Regions from separate parts of the Homo sapiens genome. Here all the other regions are linked to region 1. Evidence: promoter capture Hi-C in human tissues and cell types (Jung and others, 2019). All regions are on one chromosome and are shown on one strand. Each heading gives the region's core, a stretch centred on a gene start or on the middle of the fragment in contact. The rest is flanking DNA. Distances are from core to core; before and after follow the strand shown.

Region 1 (3,884 bases), core at 525-3,024:
TTTCTCTTGGCTTTCATGTTTTAAAAACTGCTATTTGCAACTCACTAAACTGATCATTAGCCTAATGAGTCACAGCCCACATTTGAAGACAATGGATACAGCATACCCTGATCTATATCCCAGTAGATTGCTAGAAAAGGGAAGGGAGTTGGTTTGGCGTAAGTATTTGTAAATGCTTCCCTAGGTAGTTTTGAGCTATCTTAAAGAATTTGTTCTAGAATGTTGCCAGGATTCAATGTTTCCCTCTTTTAAAAAGTCTCCTGGGTCCATTCTCATCTCTCATACCTGCACAAAGATGACTGTAACCGCTTTCACTACTCTAGGACGTCTGCCATTTGGGTTTTGAACAATCCAGTCCAGTTTCGGGCTTCGAGACCCTCTTTAAAGGGTTTAGGCTGGCCTCACTTTGAAAAGAAAGATACAGACTGGAAGCAACTCTTCCTTTTCCTATCACCTGTTAATATTATCTATTCTTCCATAAACACTGGATGATCTTCCTCATAAGAACGAAACTCCTTGTGGGTACCCCAGCTCACAGTGGCCTCTGGCTTTCCTGACCTTATCCTTGCAGGCCCTCGTCACTCTCCTGCACCTGTTCTTGTCTGTGTACCCCATGCAATGTACCTAAAGGAAACTAGACTCACAGTCCTAGCTTCCAGACCCCTACTCCCCACTATTACTTAACTGGGGCAGTCACCTTGGAAAACGTATTTAATATCGCAATCTAATTTTCTCTACCTGCAAACTGAAAATACTACTGTTTACTTTTGGGGTTTTCGTAAGAATTAATTTATGCATAAGAGTTCCCTTCTCTCGTCTCCCTGGACACATTCCCTCAAGCTTCCTTTGCCTTCAAAACACCAGAGTGTTTCACTGTTGTCAAACTAAATGCAGAGTAGTGGCTGAGATTCTGTGCCATCTAACATGCTGTGGAAACCACAACGCCTCCAAACAGGTTTCTGCAGAGACTACTCTTTGCCTTCCTCAATTAATTACACAGAAAGGATGGGAAAGGCACGGGGCACGGGGCGCGGGGCGGGCGGGGGGAGCGGGGGCGGGTTGCGGGGTGGGGCGGCGGGGAAAGTGTAAAACCCCTATTTCCCTCTAATCAGTAACACGACCTGCGAGCAGGCTCCCCAGTCCAAACAAAATGAATGAGCAACTGTCAAGCCAGGCATCATCTGAGAACCCTGCCCAGTGCATGGAGGCGCGCCCGGGGCCAGGAGCCAGCACATTTCCCCAGCCCAGGGGGGCTCTCTCAGTTGCAGGGCACCAAGGCGGCAGGAGGGCCGCAGCAAGGAAAGTTTTCTCACCAGCGGGAAAGGGTGTGCCTCGGCCGCTGGGGCCCAGCGGAGGGGAGGAAGCCCACCCAAGCCCCGAGCGCCGCCGCTTCCAGGCTTTTCGGACGCCCAGCGGCGTCCACACGCACATCAGCGGGCTGCCGGGAAGGTTTTAAACTTGGTGCTCTCCACGGGGTCCACACTCTTCCCGTGGGCGTCCTCACACCCCAATTCTCCTCCTCCCACCCCATTCTCTAGCCCCTCTAAACTAAAGACTGCCCCCAAACCCAAGCAAGCCCTGCCTTGACCAAAGCTGCACGCGCCCCGCACCCAGCGCCCGGGCTTTGCTCCGCCCTGGGCGCCCTGTCCCGCCCGTGGTTACCGGCTGGCTAGCCCCGGCCCGCGGGCTCGGCCCTGGTTCCGGCTCCTGGCTCCTCCGAGGTGCGCGAGCGCCGCCGCCGCCGCCGCCTCCCACCGCCCAGGGCCGGGCGAGTAGCTCCTAGATCCGAGGTGCGGCGGAGACGCGCGCTCCCGACCCGCAGCGGAGGCGGCGCGGGGCGCCGGAGCAGGGCTGCAGCGCGGGAGCCGCCTCCCCAGCGCGAGAGCCGCCTCCCCAGCGCGAGGCCGCCTTGGCCAAGAGGAGGTGAGCTTTGCAGATCCCTTTCCTGCTCACTTTGCCCCTCCGAGTCCGGGTCAGAGCCTGAGTCAGAGAATTCTTTGCCATCCCGGGCTCTGCAGTGGGTCCCTCGGGTCAACTTTGGGTAACAGGAGGAGCTCATTAGCTGAGCAAGAGGGAGTGGGGTATCATGAATCAAGGCTTATGAAAAATCGGCAGCATTGAGTTCAAGTTCAGTAAGGCCAGAGCCCCCCCATAATGTGCTGCTTAAATTACTACCTCGATTTTAGTTTCTCTTCCTGCCCACTGGTCCAGGTGTCAAAGGGCAGTCAGACGTTCAAACGGGGTCCCAAAGGGCTAGCACTGGGCCGGGAGTAGTTTCAGCATAGCAGGGCTGGCTCATCTCTTCCTCCCTTGAGTCCTTATTGCATGCCAGGCATTGATCTGGGAATACAGGTGCTTGGTGCTTGCATTCTACTAAAGAGACAGGCATAAACATAACAAATAACTAAAATACATAGTATGTGAGATAGTGATGAAGTGCGGTGGACAAAAAAGAAGGGAGGAAATGGGATAATGTTTGGAGGTAGGGGGTGCATTTTTAAATGGGATGGTCAAAGATGGCTTCACAGTGGAGTAAAGATCTAAAGGAGATGAGACAGAAAGAAGTCACGCTGGTATCTGGAGAGAAAGCACTTGCTGTGTGGCAGGCACTGAGATGTTCTTTACTGCACTAGTCATTTCTTTTACTACTCTCCATATGCCATATTAGACAGGTATTGCCACCATTTCCATTTTACTGATGAGAAACTGTAACTTAGGAAGGTTAAAGGAACTGCCCAAGGTCATATGCTAGTCAATAGAGGAGCTTGCCTTCAAGGTCAGGAAGCCTGGTGCCCCAGAACCATAGTTTAACCACCATTATACAGCAGCAGGGGAAATGCAGCACCCATGCAGGCTGGTGGCAGTGTGATGAACTCAAGCTGGTGGTGCCAAAAGAGGATTCCTGGAAATGACATCTCATCACTGATTTTTTTTTAAAAGCTCAGTTTCATTACCACTTGTAAAATGAAATATTTTGAACACCATTTTTCTTCTTCTTCTTTTTTTTAATTTTAAGTTCTGGGATACATGTGCAGAATGTACAGATTTGTTACATAGGTATACATGTGCCAGCGTGGTTTGCTGCATTTATCAACTTGTCATCTAGGTTTTAAGCCCCGCTTGCATTAGGTATTTGTCCTAATGCTCTTCCTCTCCTTGCCGCCCACCCCCGACAGGCCCCGGTGTATGATGTTCCCCTCCCTGTGTCCATGTGTTCTCACTGTTCAACTCCCACTTATGAGTGAGAACATGCTCATTTGGTTTTCTGTTCCTGTGTTAGTTTGCTGAGAATGGTGGTTTCCAGCTTCATCCATGTCCCTGCAAAGGACACAAACTCATCCTTTTTTATGGCTGCATAGTATTCTATGGTGTATGTGTGCCACATTTTCTTTATCCATTCTATCATTGATGGGCATTTGGAGTGAACAGGCAACCTACAGAATGGGAGAAAATTTTTGCAATCTATCCATCTGACAAAGGTCTAATATCCAGAATGTACAAGCAACTTAAACAAATTTACAAGAAGAAAACAACCCCATCAAAAAGTGGGCAAAGGATATGAACAGATACTTCTCAAAAGAAGACATTTATGCAGCCAACAAACATATGGAAAAAAGCTCATCATCACTGGTCATTAGAGAAAACCATCTTTATAGTGTGTGTATGTATCTTCTGCCTCATCCACAAGCAGTTTGATTCTAAATAACATAATTTGACAATCTGTGATAAGATTTATTAATCATTCCCCAAGTGTCCACACCAGTTCCAGTTGCTCATTCCTATTCACAGGGATGTGATTCCTCACCCCTGCAGTAGAGCCTCTGCCAAGTGTCTTCAGGGCATTGTGAAAAAGAGTGACAAAACTGCTGCTTCTGAGGGGCTAC
Region 2 (3,411 bases), core at 294-2,793, 170 kb after region 1:
CATTCACATTTGTAGGTCTCTGAGGAACTTTGGGGAGCTGAACACCTGTTATGTCTCAATATAAACTACGTCATCACCTGCTGGAAGTTTCCATACCCTTTGCCACTGAAAATTTCACACTCTAATTGTGTCTGTTATGGGTGGAACTGTGTCCCCCTCCAAATTCATAGGTTGAAGTCCTAACCATCAGTAGCTCAGAATATGACCTTATTTGGATATAGGGTTGTTACAGATGCAAAATTAAATGAGGTCATACTGGAGTAGGGGAGGTCCCTAATCGAGTATGATTAGGGTCCATATAAAAACAGAAAATCTGACCACAGACAAGCACATAGGGAATATGCCACGTGAAGATGAAGTCAGATATTAGGGTAATGTTCTATAAGCCAAGGAACTCCAAAGATTGCCAGCAAACCACCAGAAGCTAGGTGAGAGGCATGGAACAAATTGTTACTCAGTCATCAGAAGGAACGAACCCTGCTGACACCCTAATCACAGACTTCTAGCCATCAAAACTATGAGACAAATTTCTGTTGTTTAAGCCATCTAGTTTGTGGTCCTTTGTTACGGCATCCATAGGAAATTAATACAGCATTTATTGGTGTTGATATCACCAATCCACTGTGAAAACCACCAGATACCTCTTTAAGTGACCATACTTCTTAAAAGTAAGTGTTACACTCATTGAACAAATACAAGTCAATGGCCTCTATGTGCCAGCCACTCAGGACAGAGCAGTAAGACCAACAATGTCCCTGCCCTCATATAGGTTATAGTGCAGTCAGGATAACTGACAACAAACCAAAATTATACAATGATAAAATTACAATTGCATTAAGAACAAAAATGATATATTTCCCTTCCTCTCTAAACAGATGGTAAACACAGTTAACCATGCATGGAGCCTCATGGTATAGTTGGATGCCTTTCATTTTTATTTTTGTTCCCCTACTAGATATCAGGTTGTTGGCTACCACAAAGTCAGCTTTTATCAGCTACCTTCTTGTCTGCCTGCTCACCTCCTCCAATACATTTATATTTAATTTGGAGTTTCTAATGCACTCTGAGCTAAACAAAATCAAGTAACTAATATTGCTAAGAAACATATACCATGTAATGAAAATTGCTGCAAGTGAAAACTGAAGATTTGGCTTTAATGCAGGACTTTCAGGTTTACTTTAGATTCTCAGAGATTTTTTTTTTCCAACAGAATTCTGTTATAAGGCTCTGAGACAGAAAGTTATTGCTATATAAACTGGATTTTACCAAATAATTTTGTACTATATTGCCTGGCAAATGCTTGTTTCCTTTCAAAGGAAATGCAGTACAAGGAAGCAAGAAAAACTTTTTCGTATCAGAAGTTCACTGTTTTCTGCATCAGAATATAATGGTTACCTAAGGAAGAAATACTATCCAAAGTCAGAATTATATAAGTTATTGTCAAGCACAAGGCATATTTTTGTTAAATTGTCAATTGTTTAAAATAACATGACTGTGAGGTTATGTAACATCATAATTGGAAAGTTCAGGCAACATTTTTTGAAGGACTTAATAAATACCACCTACCTCTTATGCATATCCAACAATCATCTTTTTTGTTGTGTTTCTTAAGTTCTTCTTCAGTTACTTCAATTAACCTGCCTTTTAATCCCGTTAGATCCTTTCCACTTTTGGTCAGTCGAATCCAATCCATAAGGCTTCTGCCCTGTTTTAAAGGTACCTAAAAATGGAAAAAGGAAGAATTAAATCTAGCTTCATTACTTTTAATTCCATTTTAAAAGATAATAAAACTCAAATCTAACACTTCTATAAATCCTTTTACAGTTTTAAGAGGCTGTCAACATTGTTTATGCTGTATTTGAATTATAAAAGGTAGGGCTTAGAAATTCTACCACACAAATTTTCACCATATTGATGTCACAGTACAGTAGTCTATCAGTATTCCTGGGGGACTGGTCCTAGGACTTCCCCCTACCCTATACCAAAATCCAGGATGCTCAAGTGTCTCATATAAAATGGCAAAGTACTGACATATAACCTATGAACATTCTCACATATACTTTAAATAATCTCTAGATTACTAATAATACCTAAAGCAATGTAAATGCTATGTAAATGGTTGTTGTATTGCATTGTTTTATAATTCTTATTTTTTTATTGTTGTATTGTTATTTTTAATTTTTTTCCCCAAATATTTTTGATCTAAAGTTGGTTGAATCCTTGGACGCGGAACCCAGGGCTACACAGGGCTGACCATATAACAGGAATGGTATTGAACCAGAAACTAGAAAAGAGGTTCTGGTCCTGGCTCTGACATTAATATGTTACAGTTAACCAGTTTGGACCAAAATTTCTTCACCTTAAAAATCAAAGAGATTTGACAGAAGAAAAGGTAAAGAGACAATTAACTATAGTTGATTTTCTGGACTGTCAAGATAAACAGACTATTAGAAATCATTAGATAGCAATCTTATCTAAGAATCCATTGAGTAACAAAGTTTATCAAATAATGGAAAATAAAACTTGTAACACTGTAGGGAAGGGGTGGCAAACTATGGCCTGTACCTGTTTCTATACAGCCCTTGAGCAAAGAATCGTCTTCACATGTGGTGGTAAAGAGCCTGAAACCTTATGAGGCTCTCAAAGCCGAAAACACCACCTGGCCCTTTGCAGAAAAAAAACTGCCAACCCTTGCCTAGGGAACTTAGTAACAGGATGGTTTGGGTTTTTATTTTGTTTTGTTTTATAAAACACATTTTCAAAGTTTTCAGACGAGAAGTATTATTAGTACTTTGACCAGAACATTTTCAAGATATCTCTATGGAACTAAGCTTGTCTGACTAATTTGTAACGTAGTAACAGAAGAATGTTTAATGTAAAAGCAGACACATTCAAGGATGTTTACATATCTCACTTTCCTGAATCATATCTATTTTAGACATCCATTTACTCCCAAAGTAACCAAGTTAATAGGTCTGTGGTGCCTTTCACATTCTATCCTATCAATCTACATCATTCCATTCTGGCTATCACTGAAACTCTAGGTCTCTTGATCCCAATAAATGAAGTGTGAGAAAATGACCTTTCCCATCCCAAACTAAAATCACTCACCTCTCTCCATTCCATAATCCACAGGATAGTTAAAGCAATCTTTCAGAAATGCAAATCTAATCACAGGCTCTCCCTCCTTCAGTGGCTCCTCAGGTCACCTTACAACAACGTCTCTAAATTCCCTAGGGATTTACCAGGTCTTCACAATCTGGTCACAGTTGACTGTACTAGCTCCATGTTCTAACTTTTGCTCCTTTCCATTATATACTTTAGCCAAATGGGAACTGATTATTTGATTCCTTTATTGCTGTCAAGTACTTGCTTATAGTAGTGTTGCTTTCCCTGCATGGATCAACCTCA
Region 3 (3,942 bases), core at 345-2,844, 160 kb before region 1:
ATGAACTATAGACCGCAAGAGTTGGAAAATTGCCCTCAAAATTATGGTAATAACAAAAAGAAGAAGGCATGCAGAAGAAACAGTTACAGGAAAAAAAACAATGTTTGACTTCTCTGCCTTTTGGCTAAGATAAAGTGAAAAAGATAATGTCAGATGTCTCACATAGTTGAAGAGAACTAAATACAAATGGAGTTGGTCATTAGGAAATTGCTTTTGATCATAGCAGCTTTAGCAGGATGTTGGAATACATTGGATTGCAAAGTTGGAGGAGTGAATTCATTGTGGTTGAAAAAGTGCAAATGACAAGATGCTTGGTGGTACAGAGAAGCAGAGAGAATGGTAATGGTAAAGGAGAGGTAGAATCCGTCAAAGGAATTTTTTAGTTTGGGAAACTTAAGAATAGTTATGCAGAGGGGGTCGATTAAGAATAGTAGGAGAAAGAACAATGACGAGTGAAAGCAGATTTTATGCTTACCACATCAGGACACGCCTCAGTTTGCTAAAAGAGTTGTTGAGCCTGCTATGAATCCATGCTGGTAGGCCATAGCTGCAAATTACCTAGTTAGTACTTAACTCTACTTTTATATTCCTAACAGGTTAAGGAATGATATTAGTGTTTTATCGTTCTCATGTATTTGTGATGTAATTATTTCTGGTGATTACGTTTATTTCAACAGGTGTTTCTTATGGACAAAGCAGTAGTGACGTTGAAGCCCTACATCAAGCTTATTGTCATATAGCCCATTCATTGGGAGATGAAGACAAACAAAAAATTGAGAGTAACACAGTGGAAGATATCAAGAGCTCAGTGAAAGGTCATCCTCAAGAAAATGAAGAGAATTCAAAAAACATCTCTACTATGGAATCTGGTAAAAACTTACAGATGAATTTTTCAATTATTTGATATCCTTTCTAAAGAGTTTTTAGTGTAATATAATTAAAATACAATTTGCTGTAGTGATTGTTTCTCAGTCTCTGAGCTTAATTAAAGAAATTTTTTCAGCCAGGCGAGGTGGCTGATGCCTGTAATCCCAGCACTTTGGGAGGCCGAGGTGGGTGGATCACGAGGTCAAGAGATTGAGACCATCCTGGGCAACATGGTGAAACCCCATCTCTACTAAAAATACAAAAATTAGCTGGGCATGGTGGCACACGCCTATAGTCCCAGCTACTCGGGAGCCTGAGGCAGGAGAATCACTTGAACACGGGAGACGAAGGTTGCAGTGAGCCAATATTGCGCCACTGCTCCTCCAGCCTGGCAACAGAGTGAGACTCTGCCTTAAAAAAAAAAAAAAAAGATTTTTTCAAATGAAATACAGGAACCCTTGGTTTAACTATAAAATTAGAGCCAAACACAAAACGAAATTTCACTTTCTTTTCTTTTCTTTTTTTTTTTTTGAGACGGAGTCTTGCTCTGTCGCCCAGGCTGGAGTGCAATGGCACGATCTCGGCTCACAGCAGCCTCCGCCACCCTGGTTCAAGCAATTCTCTTGCCTCAGCCTCCTGCATAGCTGGGATTACAGGTGCCTGCTGCCATGCCCAGCTAATTTTTGTCTTTTTAGTAGAGATGGGGTTTTGGCATGTTGGTCAGGCTGCTCTCGAACTCCTGACCTCAGGTGATCCACCTGCCTTGGCCTCCCAAAGTGCTGAGATTACAGGCATGAGCCACTGCGCCTGGCCCAGTTTCTTTTCTAATATGCCTTGATCAAATTAAGAAGTCATTTAAAGGGATATTTTTTACTCTTTTGTATGTACGTATATTAAAGTTGTATTTTGTTAGACAACAGTATTTCAGGATCAACCAAATATGTACTTAGCGTGTGTGTATGTATAGATATTTTTTGATAAATATATTTGATATTGATATTTGAGATATTTATTTGATATTTCATAAGAAAGGAAGTTTTCCTGGTATAAGGAAACTTAAGACGGAAAACTAGGTTTATTGCATGTACCGTTTTATTAACTGTGTCAGAGAAAATATAATTTTGGTGTTATTACACATGTAAATTAAGCAACCTACATAACATTTTTCGTTTCTACTTTTTTTTCCACCTCTTAGATCTGCCCACAGTAGAGGAGCTGATGAAACCTATCAGAATAGATTCCTTTGGGATCAGTGGTTTTGATTTACAACCTGTCAGGTATGAATTTTTTATTTATTGTTTTGTCATTGGAAACTTTTATAGTCATTTGTTCTATGTAATCATTCCTAGTGAATGATTAATGACTAATACTAGCTTGACTCTACCTGTGAGTCATAACTCTCTTCTTTTTATATTTGTCCTTACTCAAGTCATCAAAATTCTAGGGCTAAATGAAAAAATAAATAGATGCTATAAAAAAACTGGGGCCACTAAATAGTCCTAAAGGTTTTCACTGAAAAATACAGTCTCCTCAGCTTTAAATAGTGCCGGAACAGTTCATTCATGATGAGGGAGAAAGTGAATTTTATTATGTTTATGAGTCATAGATTTCCTTCTTTATAAACCAGTTAGTTTTGACTTAGTCACAGACTGGCTGTCATCTCACAGGGTGAGTTTGTAGCCACAAGAGAAATGGTCCTCATTAAAATGCTTCAGGTCCAATACAGTTTAGTGGAAGTATGTGTGACCCACTGTCATTCTTCAACACGGAGTAACATGTCACAGTAACCTTGTAATAGACAGCGTTGCTTTTATGTAGCACTGAAATGTCATGTCCAGTCTCCCACGTGATCCTCATAACAAGTAGAGAATGCATCTTTATGCCCATAATTCAAGAAATGCACCTGAGATTAACTCAATTTACTGGTAGATGATAACAGCTAACATTTTTCACATTTACTTTGGGCACATACTATACGTATATTATTTAATTTAACCTTACAGCATCTCCATGGGTTATACTCCATTATTATCCCTATTTCATAGACAAGAAGATTGAAGCCTAAGAGATTAAAATAAATAAAGCCATTGCCCAAGGTCATATAGTTGTAGACCAGGAACACAGGCCATCCATGTGCTTAACCACTTACATTGTCAGGTCTTTGATCTCCATAAAATACTTCTGTGAAATAGTCTGTCATCCATTCATGTTGTCATTTGTTCATTTGTGTCTTCAACAGACATGTTTTCAGCCTCCTTCCTATACTGTATCCTCATGATGTAAATCCACATGTGGTGATCTCCTGGCCTTGTTTCTACATTTGTGTGAGTTGAGAAAAAAATGATGCAGTGAACCTTCCACTAAAATTCATTCACTTCAATGCTAAGTGTAGTAGTCTTCCATTGATCTGTAGTGCTAATTAGTATTTTTAAAGGAGAGATGGTACCACTCATCATTGCTGTTTGGGAGTATGTTAGCGGTAACTACAGAGATTTTCTTACACATCTTATATCTTTGTTGTTATAGGTAAAACCATTTCAGTAATAGGAATTCTAAAACAGATTTTTACATTTGTGTTTAAAAGCTTAAAACAGATATTTTGAAGGTATAACAGTAATCATACGTAATAGAAATGTCAGTAATATGATCTTTAGTACACATACCTAAAAATTTTTTGGTAAACTATGGAGTAAATGACCCTAGCTGCTATAACATAATCCTTGAAATCTTAGTAGCTTGTCATCAAAAATGTATTTCTTGCTCACATCACTATCCCTTGTGGGTCAGTGGGGTTGGATTGGGGCTCTGCTCCACACAGTCATTTAGGAACCCAGGCTGCTTGTCATCAACACATAGTTTTAAGATTGTTATGACATCATCCAACCAGTCAGTAAGGAAAGAAAGAGAATGGTTTTGCGTCCTTTCTTTTAACTGCCTTAATACAGAAGTTTCATATCACTTCAGCTCACATTCCATTGGTAGGAACCAGCACATCTAGCTAACTAGGTCCAAGGAGGCTGTGAAATGTCGTTTGTTTCTGTGCCAAGAAAGAAAAATGAGTTTGGTCAGTATCTA

Evidence for each region. The method cuts DNA at HindIII sites, captures the fragments that hold promoters and counts their contacts. A contact is called where the count stands out against the background at its distance.
Region 2: a contact is called between a fragment that was not itself captured here and the fragment with the promoter of MRAP2 in region 1, in 1 of the 25 tissues and cell types used here (hippocampus).
Region 3: a contact is called between a fragment that was not itself captured here and the fragment with the promoter of MRAP2 in region 1, in 1 of the 25 tissues and cell types used here (H1 embryonic stem cells).

What each region holds. Positions count from the first base shown.
Region 1 is chr6:84,031,662-84,035,545 of GRCh38, reverse strand. It overlaps MRAP2 (melanocortin 2 receptor accessory protein 2), which reads right to left and starts at 1,774. Exons shown (of 4, transcript NM_138409.4): 1 at 1,663-1,774. The HindIII fragment of the contact is 8,786 bases long and covers 1-3,884 here.
Region 2 is chr6:83,862,484-83,865,894 of GRCh38, reverse strand. It overlaps RIPPLY2-CYB5R4 (RIPPLY2-CYB5R4 readthrough), which reads right to left. Exons shown (of 18, transcript NR_174604.1): 4 at 1,567-1,720. CYB5R4 (cytochrome b5 reductase 4) reads right to left here. Exons shown (of 16, transcript NM_016230.4): 2 at 1,567-1,720. Among named protein-coding and RNA genes, the nearest start is that of CYB5R4, 4.5 kb to the right of the region's middle. The HindIII fragment of the contact is 4,744 bases long and covers 1-3,411 here.
Region 3 is chr6:84,191,811-84,195,752 of GRCh38, reverse strand. It overlaps CEP162 (centrosomal protein 162), which reads left to right. Exons shown (of 27, transcript NM_014895.4): 10 at 678-869; 11 at 2,063-2,144. Among named protein-coding and RNA genes, the nearest start is that of CEP162, 34 kb to the left of the region's middle. The HindIII fragment of the contact is 5,582 bases long and covers 1-3,942 here.